3 separate regions of the Homo sapiens genome follow, and all the other regions are linked to region 2. Evidence: promoter capture Hi-C in 16 types of primary human blood cells and fetal thymus (Javierre and others, 2016). All regions are on one chromosome and are shown on one strand. The core of a region is centred on a gene start or on the middle of the fragment in contact, and the rest is flanking DNA. Distances in the headings are between cores, read along the strand shown. Region 1 has its middle 8.3 kb from the start of ZFAND5. Region 2 holds the start of PTAR1 (protein prenyltransferase alpha subunit repeat containing 1). Region 3 overlaps C9orf85 (chromosome 9 open reading frame 85).

Region 1 (3,713 bases), core at 1,010-3,509, 2.6 Mb before region 2:
GATCATGAGGTCAGGAGTTCGAGATCAGCCTGGCCAACATAGTGAAACCCTGTCTCTACTAAAAATACAAAAATTAGCTGGGTGTGGTGGTGCACACCTGTAATCCCAGCTACTCGGGAGGCTGAGGCAGGAGACTCACTTGAAGCCGGGAGGCAGAGGTTGTGGTGAGCCGAGATCTCACCACTGCATTCCAACCTGGGTGACAAAGTGAGACTCTGTCTGGAAAAAAAAAAAAAAAATCTCGCCACTGCATTCCAGCCTGGGTGACAAAGTGAGACTCTGTCTGGAAAAAAAACAAAAAAAAACACAAAAACCTAACAATCTCTTATTTTTTCAATTTTATATTATCCAAGCACTTAACAGACCTAATTGTTTTTTAATTTTTGGGGTGACAATCAAAGCTTGTCTGAATTTGAGGGATCCCACTTATTTCTTTATTTTTAATAATAGACTTTATTTTTAAGAGCTATTTTAGGTTCACAGCAAAATTGAGAGAAAGGTACAGAGATTTCCCATATACACCTGCCTCCACACATGCATGGCCTTCCCCATTATCAACATCCCATAGAGTGGTATGTTTGTTACAACTGATGAACCTACATTGACCCATTATTATCATTCGAAGTCCTTGGTTTAAAGTAGGGTTCACTCTTGGTGTTGTAGGTTCTGTGGGTTTGGATAAATTGATCATGACGTGTAGCCACCATTATAGTATCACACAGAGTAGTTTCTCTATTATAAAAATCCTCTGTGTTCTGCATATTCCTCCCTCTTTCCCCTCTATCCCCTGGCAACCACTTGATCTTTTTACTGTTCCCATAGTTTTGCCTTTTTCAGGATGTCATATAGTTGAAATTAACAGTACGTACTTTTCAGACTGGCTTCTTTTTTGTTTGAGACAGAGTCTCACTCTGTTGCCAGGTTGGAGTGCGGTGGTGTGATCTCGGCTCACTGCAACCTCTGCCTCCCCGGTTCAAGCGATTCTACTGCCTCAACCTCCCGAGTAGCTGGGACTACAGGCGTGCGCCAACCACGTCCAGCTAATTTTTGTATTTTTAGTAGAGATGACGTTTCACCATGTTGCCCAGGACGGTCTCAATCTCTTGACCTCGTGATCTGCCCACCTCGGCCTCCCAAAGTGCTGGGATTACAGGCGTGAGCCACCGCGCCCGGACCTCAGACTGGCTTCTTTCACTTAGTAATATCCATTCAAGTTTTCCATGTCTTTTCATGGCTTAATAACACGTTTATTTTAGCACTGAATAATATTCTATTATCTGGATGTACCACAGTTTATTTCTCCATTCACCTACTGAAGGGTATCTTGGTTGCTTTCAAGTTTTGGCAATTACGAATAAAGCTGCTATGAATATCTGTGTGCAGGTTTTTTTGTGGACATGTCTTCAACTCCTTTGAGTAAATACCAAGGAGTGTGACTGCTGGATCATATGGTAAGAGTATGTTTAACTTCATAAAAAATCATCAAACTGCCTTCCGAAGTGACTACCATTTTGTAGTCCCAACAACAACGAATAAGAGTTTCTGTTGCTTTGCATCCTCACCAGCATTTGGTGTTGTTTGTTTTCTGGATTTTGGCCATTCTAATAGGTACATAGTGGTATCTCATTGTTGCTTTAATTTGCATTTCCCTGATGACATATAATGTGAAGCATCTTTTTTTTTTTTTTTTTTTTTGAGATGGAGTCTCGCTCTGTCACCCAGGCTGGAGTGCAGTGGTGCGATCTCGGCTCACTGCAAGCTCCACCTCCTGGGTTCATGCCATTCTCCTGCCTCAGCCTCCGAAGTAGCTGGGACTACAGGCGCCCGCCACCATGCCCGGCTAATTTTTTTGTGTTTTTTAGTGGAGACGGGGTTTTACTGTGTCAGCCAGGATGGTCTCGATCTTCTGACCTCGTGATCTTCCTGCCTCAGCCTCCCAAAGTGCTGGGATTACAGGCGTGAGCCACCATGCCCGGCCTATGTGAAGCATCTTTTTATATGCTTATTTGTCATCTGTATATCTTCTTTGGTGAAGCTAATGTTTTTATTTATTTGTCCTGCTTCAGTTTATCACTTTTAATTTTTCAATAAAAAGAATTTTCCCTTACATATTTATATGCTTCACATTTAGAGTTGGTCATGATGTTGTAAGTTATAATACAAAAACAACTTAAATCAGTCATATACCAGTATCTGAAGTACTGGCTCTGAAATTCCCAGGTTCAAACTTTATCTTGTTCATTCTAGAGCCATTGATCCACATGGAATAAATATAAATTCATATCTATTTCTAGATATTTATTCACTACTCCCACTTATTCACTACCTAACAATAGTAGTGGTTAGCTATACATTTCTCTTCCAATGACAGAGCATAACTTCAGTATGCAAAGACAAACAAAAAAAAAAAGAAGAGTTTTCTGGATTAAGTTGAAAAATGTTTGTAAGTAAAATTTTAAAAATAGATATACCTTTGTCAGCTGGGTGTGGTGGCTCATGCCTGTAATCCCAGCACTTTGGGAGACTCAGGCACGTGGACAACTTGAGGCCAGAGAGTTTGAGACTAGCCTGGCCAACACAGTGAAACCTGTCTTTATTAAAAATACAAAAGTTAGCCAAGCATGGTGGTACATGCCTATAATCCCAGCTACTGGGGAGGCTGAGGCGTGAGAATCTCTTGAGTCCAGAACGAGGAGGCTGGTTGCAGTGAGCCGAGATCATGCCACTGCACTCCAGCCTGAGTGACAGAGTGAGACTCTGTCTCAAAATAAATAAATAAATAAATACAAATAGCTATATCTTTGTAAGTGAAAAATTCATAAATAAACCATTTATAAGCCAAGGGATGAGTACAGATACTCATTCCTTTGAGTACTTCATTTGAATCTATGAAGGTGGGTAAAGTCGCTCTGAGAGAGTATGAGCAGTGAAAAAACAAAGAGTGCCCGGGACCTAGACCTAAAAAATGCCAACATTTAGGAGATGGACAGATAAGCTGGAGCTAGCAAAAGAGACAGAAGTTGCCTGTTAGAGACTGCTGGGTGAGGTGAGCGATACACAAGATAAGAATGGTATGGCCGGGTGCGGTGGCTCATGCCTGTAATCCCAGGACTTTGGGAGGCCAAGGTGGGCAGATCATGAGGTCAGGAGATCGAGACCATCCTGGCTAACATGGTGAAATCCCATCTCAACTAAAAATACAAAAAAATTAGCAGGGCATGGTGGCATGTGCCTGTAGTCCTAGCTACTTGGGAAGCTGAGGCAGGAGAATCTCTTGAACCCAGGAGGGAGAGGTTGCAGTGAGCTAAGATGATGGCACTACACTCCAGCCTGGGCAACAGAGTGAGACTCTGTCTCAGAAAAAAAAAAAAAAAAGAATGGTTAACTTTCTAGGCTTCGCGCCATGGTTCACACCTGTAATCCATCTGCCAAAGCAGGCAGATTGCTTGAGCTCAGGAGTTTGAGACCAGCCTGGGCAACATGGTGAAACCCATCTCTACCAAAAATACAAATAATTAACTGGGCACGTGTCTGTGGTCCCAGCTACTCCGGAGGATAATGTGGGAGGACTGCTTGAGCCTGGGAGGCAGAAGTTGCAGTGAGCCGAGATCGCGCCACTGCACTCCAGCTTGGGTGACAAAGTGAGACTCCCTCTCAGAAAAAAAAAAAGGTTAACATTCTAATGGTAAATATAATTATGAAATAAATTTAAA
Region 2 (3,829 bases), core at 666-3,165:
CAGTGGCGCGATCTCCACTCACTGCAACCTCCTACTTCCGCGTTCAAGCGCTTCTCCTGCCTCAGCCTCCCAAGTAGCTGGGATTACAAGCACGTGCCACCACGCCCAGCTAATTTTATATTTTTAGTAGAGACGGCGTTTCACTGTCTTGGCCACGATGGTCTCGAACTCCTGACCTCGTGATCCTTCCGCCTCTGCCTCCCAAAGTGCTGGGATTACAGGTGTAAGCCACCGTGCCCGGTCCTATCTCACTTCTTTTACAACCAGAAGGCTAACTCCAGCCTTTATAAACATACCCACAGGAAATACTGGCCACTGAGTATAGTAAATTTATATTTTTCGTTTATATTTCTCATTCACTTTACATGCAATAGATAGCTTTTACTTTTACAATCATAAAAACTACTTCAAACGCTCCGCATATGTTCACATTAAACACACCATGAGTTTATTTTTTTAATAGCTTTTTAAAGATACAGATTTCTTTTTTTTTTTTTTTGAGACAGAGTCTCGCTCTGTCGCCCAGGCCGGACTGCGGACTGCAGTGGCGCAATCTCGGCTCACTGCAAGCTCCGCTTCCCGGGTTCACGCCATTCTCCTGCCTCAGCCTCCCGAGTAGCTGGGACTACAGGCGCCCGCCACCGCGCCCAGCTAATTTTTTGTATTTTTAGTAGAGACGGGGTTTCACCTTGTTAGCCAGGATGGTCTCGATCTCCTGACCTCATGATCCACCCGCCTCGGCCTCCCAAGGTGCTGGGATTACAGGCGTGAGCCACCGCGCCCGGCCTTTTTTTAAAGACGGAGTCTCGCTCTGTCGCCCAGGCTGGAGTGCAGTGGGGAGTAGCTGGGATTACAGGCGCCCGCCACCACGCCCGGCTTTTTTTTTTTTTTTTTTTTTTTTGTATTTTTAGTAGAGACGGGGTTTCACCGTGTTAGCCAGGATGGTCTCGATCTCCTGACCTTGTGATCCGCCCGCCTTGGCCCCCCAAAGTGCTGGGATTACAGGCGTGAGCCACCGCACCTGGCCAGATTTCAAGGGTGGAAGAATAAAACTGAACCAAGGGCAGCCAGATTTTTCTACCAGAGGTGCAAAAGAAAACCTGATACACAAAAATTTTAGTTATGGCATTTCAAAATCCTAAATAAACTAGAAAGCTCGTTTTTCCTACAAAAATTTATTTTTGCTATTATGAACAAACCCTGTCAGAGCCTTGATCCTTTTTTTTAAATTCCAAAATTGACGCAAAGGCTACCAAATGCAGTACAAAATGAAGTCGAAAAATCTAAAAACGATTTCACTTCTACTTCCTACATACAGATGGCAAATAACTTTTCCTTCACTTTCCTTTCTCTTCCTTTAATAAATTTAAGAATTTTAATTAATGTTTTTTAAAAAGGCTGCTTTCAAGTTCAGAGACAAAAATTGGCACAGTTAGAAAGGAGGTCACCAACACGGTCAAATAGGGACTCGCTCCGCCGCAATGCCTCTGGACCTCTTCATCTCTCAGGCTGGGAAAATAAAGCAGACAAGCTCTGAAAAACGCCCGGGACTAACTGTTAAGAGGCCCTGCATCCTCAGTTGAACATTCCTTCAGGAATGCCCGGGGACCTTGCTGGGGGGGTTCAGGAAGGTGTCTGACTCTCTGGGAGTGTGTCTTGAGGTTTCGCCTAAAACTTAAAATAAGAAAATCGGAGGCCTGAGAGAACTTTGCAAACAAATGTCCAGCATCTTCTCTGACGCTTAGAAAGTCCGTTACCCGCGCGGAGGCGAACTTCTCCACTCACTGGAAGGCCACCAACCCTAGCTAACGCCACGCCCAGGCCGCCAACTGGCTGACCCGGAAGTGCTCGGCGGCGGCCGCGGCGGCGGGGACGCGGCCTAGCCGAAGCACCCGCGCGCGCGCGCGCGCGCTCGTTCTCCGCGGAACTCCCGCCGGCGGCCCGGCTCACGCGGAGGCGCGCCCGAACTGTCGCGGCCGCCGCCAACATGGCCGAGACCAGCGAGGAGGTGGCGGTGCTGGTGCAGCGGGTTGTGAAGGACATCACTAACGCCTTCAGGAGGAACCCACACATGTGAGTCGCGCGCCTCCGCCGCCTCCGAGGGTCGTCGGGAGCGGGCGGGGGCGGGGCCAAGCGTCCACCCGACCTCGGGCGGCGGGCGGACAGCGGGTCCTGGCCCACGAGCCCTTCTAGGGAGGAGGCAGAGCCGTGTCGGGCGGGACCGTTGTCGGCCGCCGCTGGCCCGGCTTTCCGCTACCGGGACGCGCTCGCGGTCGAGTCCCTAGAAGTGACCTCAAAAAATCAAAACGGAACTACTTTCTCTGTCCCTCCCCACCTTTTCATAGGAGTTCACGAAACTCCAGAGACGTCCCCCGTAGGTCGACATCCTTCCTGTGTTTAAGGTACTCGGGCGCACACAACGATGTGGGTCCGTGTATGCCTTGTAAACACAACTCTTGAGATTCATCCCGGACGTTGGCAAGAGGGGGTAACCGATCCTCTTACTTTTAATGAGCCTCAAACCCCTCAGTTTACTAACTAAAGGTGGTTTGAGGCTGCTTTTGACTTTAGCCTTACTTGCCACAAAATTGTAAAGTGACTCCGATAATACATTGTGTTTTGAAAGGTGAACAGAACATTCTCAAGAGAAGCTTCTGTGGGCGCAGTGTGGAGTCTGGGATAAAGCAAATGAAACCTTGATACTTTTTAGCATAAGCGGATTCATAGTTACAAGGAGCATGTTAACTCATTTTTATCCCAACACTGCTGCCCTCTTTAACGGGACACTGCAGAACTGACATATGTATCTCTTCCATTTTACTTGAAGTACTGTGGGAAGATACCGCAAGAGTCTACTTTTTGTAACACTTTGCTTTTATGTAACAAGTGAAAAGAAAGCTATTGAGAGAGAGAGAGAGATCTACATTATACAAAGGTGTAGGGAAGAAGCAACAATGTACCTCCTTTCCCATACCTCTTCCTCCTCAAAGAAAAGAAACATGGCATCCAGTTCTGCATTACTTTCATTTTAGCTAGTTGTTTTTGGAGTTTATTTTTTTTTTTTTTAGTTTATTATTTTTTATTATTATTTAATTTATTTTTATTTTATTCTTTAGACTGGAGCTCATGATTTTTTTTTTTAAGTATTCTAACCGGTTCAGCTTTTCTGCCTAAAAAAGTTGCCAAACGTGTATCTTACCAAAGTGTTCTTTTCCTCCAAGGTGATGATTGTAAAACAGTTAAGAAGCCGTTGGATGTTTTGCTCCCTTGTGGCACACAATTGGAGACGTGCAACTGTGCCACATTAAAAACAAAACACTGCTGGCCTCAAAACACACCTGCCACCTCTGACAGCATCCACTTCCCTCCCCCTTATGACTGCTGCCTTTTTCAAAATGAGAGTGTTTGGAATGATTTCCTGGCAGTATCCATAGTGGTTGCTGAGCCTTCTAAAGAATGCTTTGATGCCTTGCTGTATATCAGTCTTTCGATTTCTTTTTGAGAATGGGAGCCTTAGTGCAAGTAAGAGACGACCTCAAAAAAAAAAAAAGTTGGACAAATGAAGAGTGTATTTTCTCATCACTGGTATTTTTCTAGAAGAAATTACAGCAGAGATTAGAAATCTAATACAAAATGTCGTAATCATCTTATGTTCTCTTCTTTGAGGTAGACTAAAAGAGCATCATTATATTTGAAGAAACCAAGATTGAATGTTCATTGGCTTGGCAGTTTTTAACACAGTGCAGTTTGGAACATGTCCCAGTTCTTGTGGATCACATTTATGGAAACTCTTAAAGGACTTTAATGCCCCTCCCTAATCCTTTTTCTA
Region 3 (3,424 bases), core at 868-3,367, 2.2 Mb before region 2:
AAAATCACACATACACATGGAGGGCTTTTGATTTACTTGCCCTTTGAATTGTCCTCCCACAGATCCCATCCAACCAATGAAGAGGCATGTGCTAATTATGTAACTCTGGGCATGTCATTCACCTCTAAGCCCTAATTTCCCAATATGTAAAATGGGATCATTTTGCATCTATCTTAGGGTTACTTTGAAGATGAAATTATTATAGATAATGTATAGCAAGTATACATAGTGCCTAAACATAGTGCCTAATACACTTAAGTACACAAATATTAGCTATAACAGGTTGAGTATCCCTAATCCAAAAAATCTGAAATCTAAAACTTTTTGAGCACCTATATCATGTTCAAAGTAAATACCTGTTGGAACATTTTGGATTAAAGAGTCTAAACTGATATAATGTAAATATTCCAAAATCTGAAAAAATCTGAAATCCAGAACACTCTGGTCCTAAGCATTTCAGATAAATAATACTCAACTTGTATTAATAAAACTATATTTCCAAAATTATTTAGAGTACACCCATAGACTTCCATTTTCCATCTCCATCTCAAGATGAAGACTATAGTTTCCTAAAATTAGTGAGCTCCACAACAAATTAGTTCAATAGGTATTATGTAAATCAAAGCGTTCCATAGCCAAGCAAGTTTTGGTTGAATAATTTTTTAACTGCAAAACATTGATTTATTCCAATGTATACTACGACCCACCTCTAAAAGTGAGATCTAGTATACAGTATTTCCAAAGTGATTTGATCATGAAATTTTCTCCTGCCCTATGAAGAAGATACATGACCTTGGGGCTCTAAGAAATATATTTTGGGAAATGCTATTAAAAACAATACTGACTATATATATATTATTAATAGCATCCTCAAAAGGATGACAGATGCTCCTCCATTTAGTTTAATGTTACTCATCCTTCTGATTTTTGGGGAGCTTTCCTTAACCCTCCAAACATAATCAAGACTTCATGCTATTATAGATACTCTCAGGGCTCCCTAGACCGTTCTTTCATAGCTCTTACTGCTGTAGTATTAACATACTTGAAAGATTATTTGATTAATGCCTGTCACTTCTCCCACCAAATCACAAGCTTCAATTAAGACTGTGACTGTATATTTTGCTCAACCCTATACTTCCAATATCTAGCACAATGTTTGGTACCAGATAACACATGTGGAATACAGACAGGAATACCAGAATTTCACTGCGGCCTTTTTGGCATAGTGCAAAACTGAAAACAACTCAATGTTTATTAATAGGAAAGTAGTTAAATAAGCTAATCCACATTTGTGCTGTATAATATTACACAGCCATTTAAAAAATAAGCTTAATCTTTCTGTTCTGACACATCCACTTTACTGAATGAGAAGGGCAAAGATGTATTTTATTACATATGCACTGTATCATACAGACATATCTAGAAATGTACACATCAAAGTGTTAACAGTGACTATATCTGAACAGGACTAAAACTGGGAACAGAGACTTTCACTTTTATACAGTACCTTATATACTTCTCTATTGTTTCAGTATTCTTCAACAAGCATGCATTTCTTTTCTAATTAATTTTTTTAGGCTTTGATCAACTGCAGGGCCACATAAATTATTATGGGCTTTATTCTTAGTTCTTATTTTTATCCCTATTTCTTAAAAATATTTTTGTAGCTGGGTACGGTGGCTCACACCTGTAATCCCAGCACCTTGGGAGGCCAAGGTGGGCAGATCGCTTGAGGTCAGGAGTGACCAACCTGGCCAACATAGTGAAACCCCATCTCTACTAAAAATACAAAAATTAGCCAGGCATGGTTGTGTGCCCCTGAAATCCCAGCTACTTGGGAGGCTGAGACAAGAGAATCACTTGAACCCAGGAGGTGGAGGTTGTGGTGATCCATATCACGCCACTGCACTCCAGCCTGGGCGAGAGAGCGAGACTCTGTCTCAAAAAAAAAAAAAAAATAATAATAATAATTTTTGTAATGATCTCTGTAGCAATCCTCAGAGGAAAGTAAGACAAGAGATAGTACTAACCCAGTATCATAGATTAAAAGCTATAGGTAAATTGCCTGACATCATCAAGCAAAACAAATGACAGAACTGGGGCTAAGGAATGGCTCTTTTCTCTTAGTCCAGTGCTCTTTTCGTTGGACATCACTGCCTTTCCAGTAAGGGAAAGAAGGCTGCCTTGATCTGCTCAACATCTCAGTACTAAATGACTAGAAAAGATTTAAACCTATTCCCACTGCCGACCCTCTGAATCCCCATAAGTCATTTGAGGGTACCGGTGACCAATGGCCAGAGGGACCTCTTTTAAATAACCCCAGGGAAGAGGAGGTTACAAATCCCGGCGCAAGCCCCTTCACTGTCAGATAATTCCCTCATATTGAGCTGAAACCTATTTTTGTTACTTTGATTCCCTGGTCCAAGTTTGGCCATTTGAAATGGCACAAAATTTGAATATACTCTCCTTTTCTAGAGTATATTCAAGCATATAAAGAAAGCTATCATCTGTGTCCTTTTGAGAATGAGTGCTTTACCTATATTAACTTCCAATAAAACATCTGTAATTATCCAACTTCTAATTGCAGTGAGTCCTAACAAACTGCTTGGCAGAGGAGGAAAAGAAAAACTATCATGTAGGACCCCTACCAAATCATAAAGTATTTAATACAAGTAGTCAATTGTTACTACAGTCCTCTAAGGCAGGGGTGTCCAATCTTTTGGCTTCTCTGGGCCATACTGGAAGAATTGTCTTGGGCCACACATAAAATACACTAACACTAATGACAACTGATGAGCTTAAAAAAAAAAAAATCACAAAAAAATCTCATAATGTTTTAAGAAAATTTACGAATTTGTGTTGGGTTGCATTCAAAGACGCCCTGCACCATGTGTTGGACAAGCTTGCTTTATGGGGAGTTACAGAGAACCGTGCATTTTTTATCACTCCTTTGTTAGATGTCACCAGATCAAATAGCTTTCCAGTGTAAAGAACAGGCACAAAGTTAGGATCAGATGCTTCTGACAAAGTCTTGGCTTTAGATGGCTACTCATAGCAGATGCAAGAATCTGTTATGATCACAGACAATTATTAGCTATTCATTACACAGATGAACAATCAACCGAATGATTTTTCCTCAGTAAAATATTTTGTGTTGTTTTTGTCAGAACCTTCAATAATGAAGTGGCCTGGTGGTCCTCCTGATTAACAAATGAGACTTTTTCATAACTTAAAAGAGGGAAAGGAATTAAAGATAAAAAGATAAAAATGGTCAAATGCAACTTAGTGACTGAACCTGAGACCCAGGAAAACATTTAGGACCAGAATGACATAGTTATTAGATAACACCAAGAAAATGCACAATGAAAAGTACAAGTAGGAGAAGCTACACTATAGTTAAATACTCATTAAAACTGCTTTTTAC

Evidence for each region. Contacts are between HindIII fragments. The CHiCAGO score rates a contact against its expected background, and 5 or more counts as called.
Region 1: a fragment that was not itself captured here is called in contact with the fragment with the promoter of PTAR1 in region 2 in 1 of 17 cell types (non-activated CD4 T cells); the score reaches 6.0 in non-activated CD4 T cells.
Region 3: a contact is called between a fragment that was not itself captured here and the fragment with the promoter of PTAR1 in region 2, in 1 of 17 cell types (non-activated CD4 T cells). The highest score is 7.7, in non-activated CD4 T cells.

The regions. Positions count from the first base shown.
Region 1 is chr9:72,371,636-72,375,348 of GRCh38, reverse strand. No RefSeq gene overlaps it. Among named protein-coding and RNA genes, the nearest start is that of ZFAND5, 8.3 kb to the right of the region's middle. The HindIII fragment of the contact is 3,712 bases long and covers 404-3,713 here.
Region 2 is chr9:69,758,097-69,761,925 of GRCh38, reverse strand. It overlaps PTAR1 (protein prenyltransferase alpha subunit repeat containing 1), which reads left to right and starts at 1,915. Exons shown (of 8, transcript NM_001099666.2): 1 at 1,915-2,073. The coding sequence starts at 1,988. LOC105376076 (a long non-coding RNA gene) reads right to left here and starts at 1,831. Exons shown (of 4, transcript XR_929910.3): 1 at 1,453-1,831. RefSeq lists enhancers at 38-893, 2,368-2,417 and a silencer at 1,758-2,227. The HindIII fragment of the contact is 9,606 bases long and covers 1-2,653 here.
Region 3 is chr9:71,913,718-71,917,141 of GRCh38, reverse strand. All of the region lies in intron 1 of C9orf85 (chromosome 9 open reading frame 85), which reads right to left. Among named protein-coding and RNA genes, the nearest start is that of C9orf85, 3.8 kb to the right of the region's middle. The HindIII fragment of the contact is 1,574 bases long and covers 1,331-2,904 here.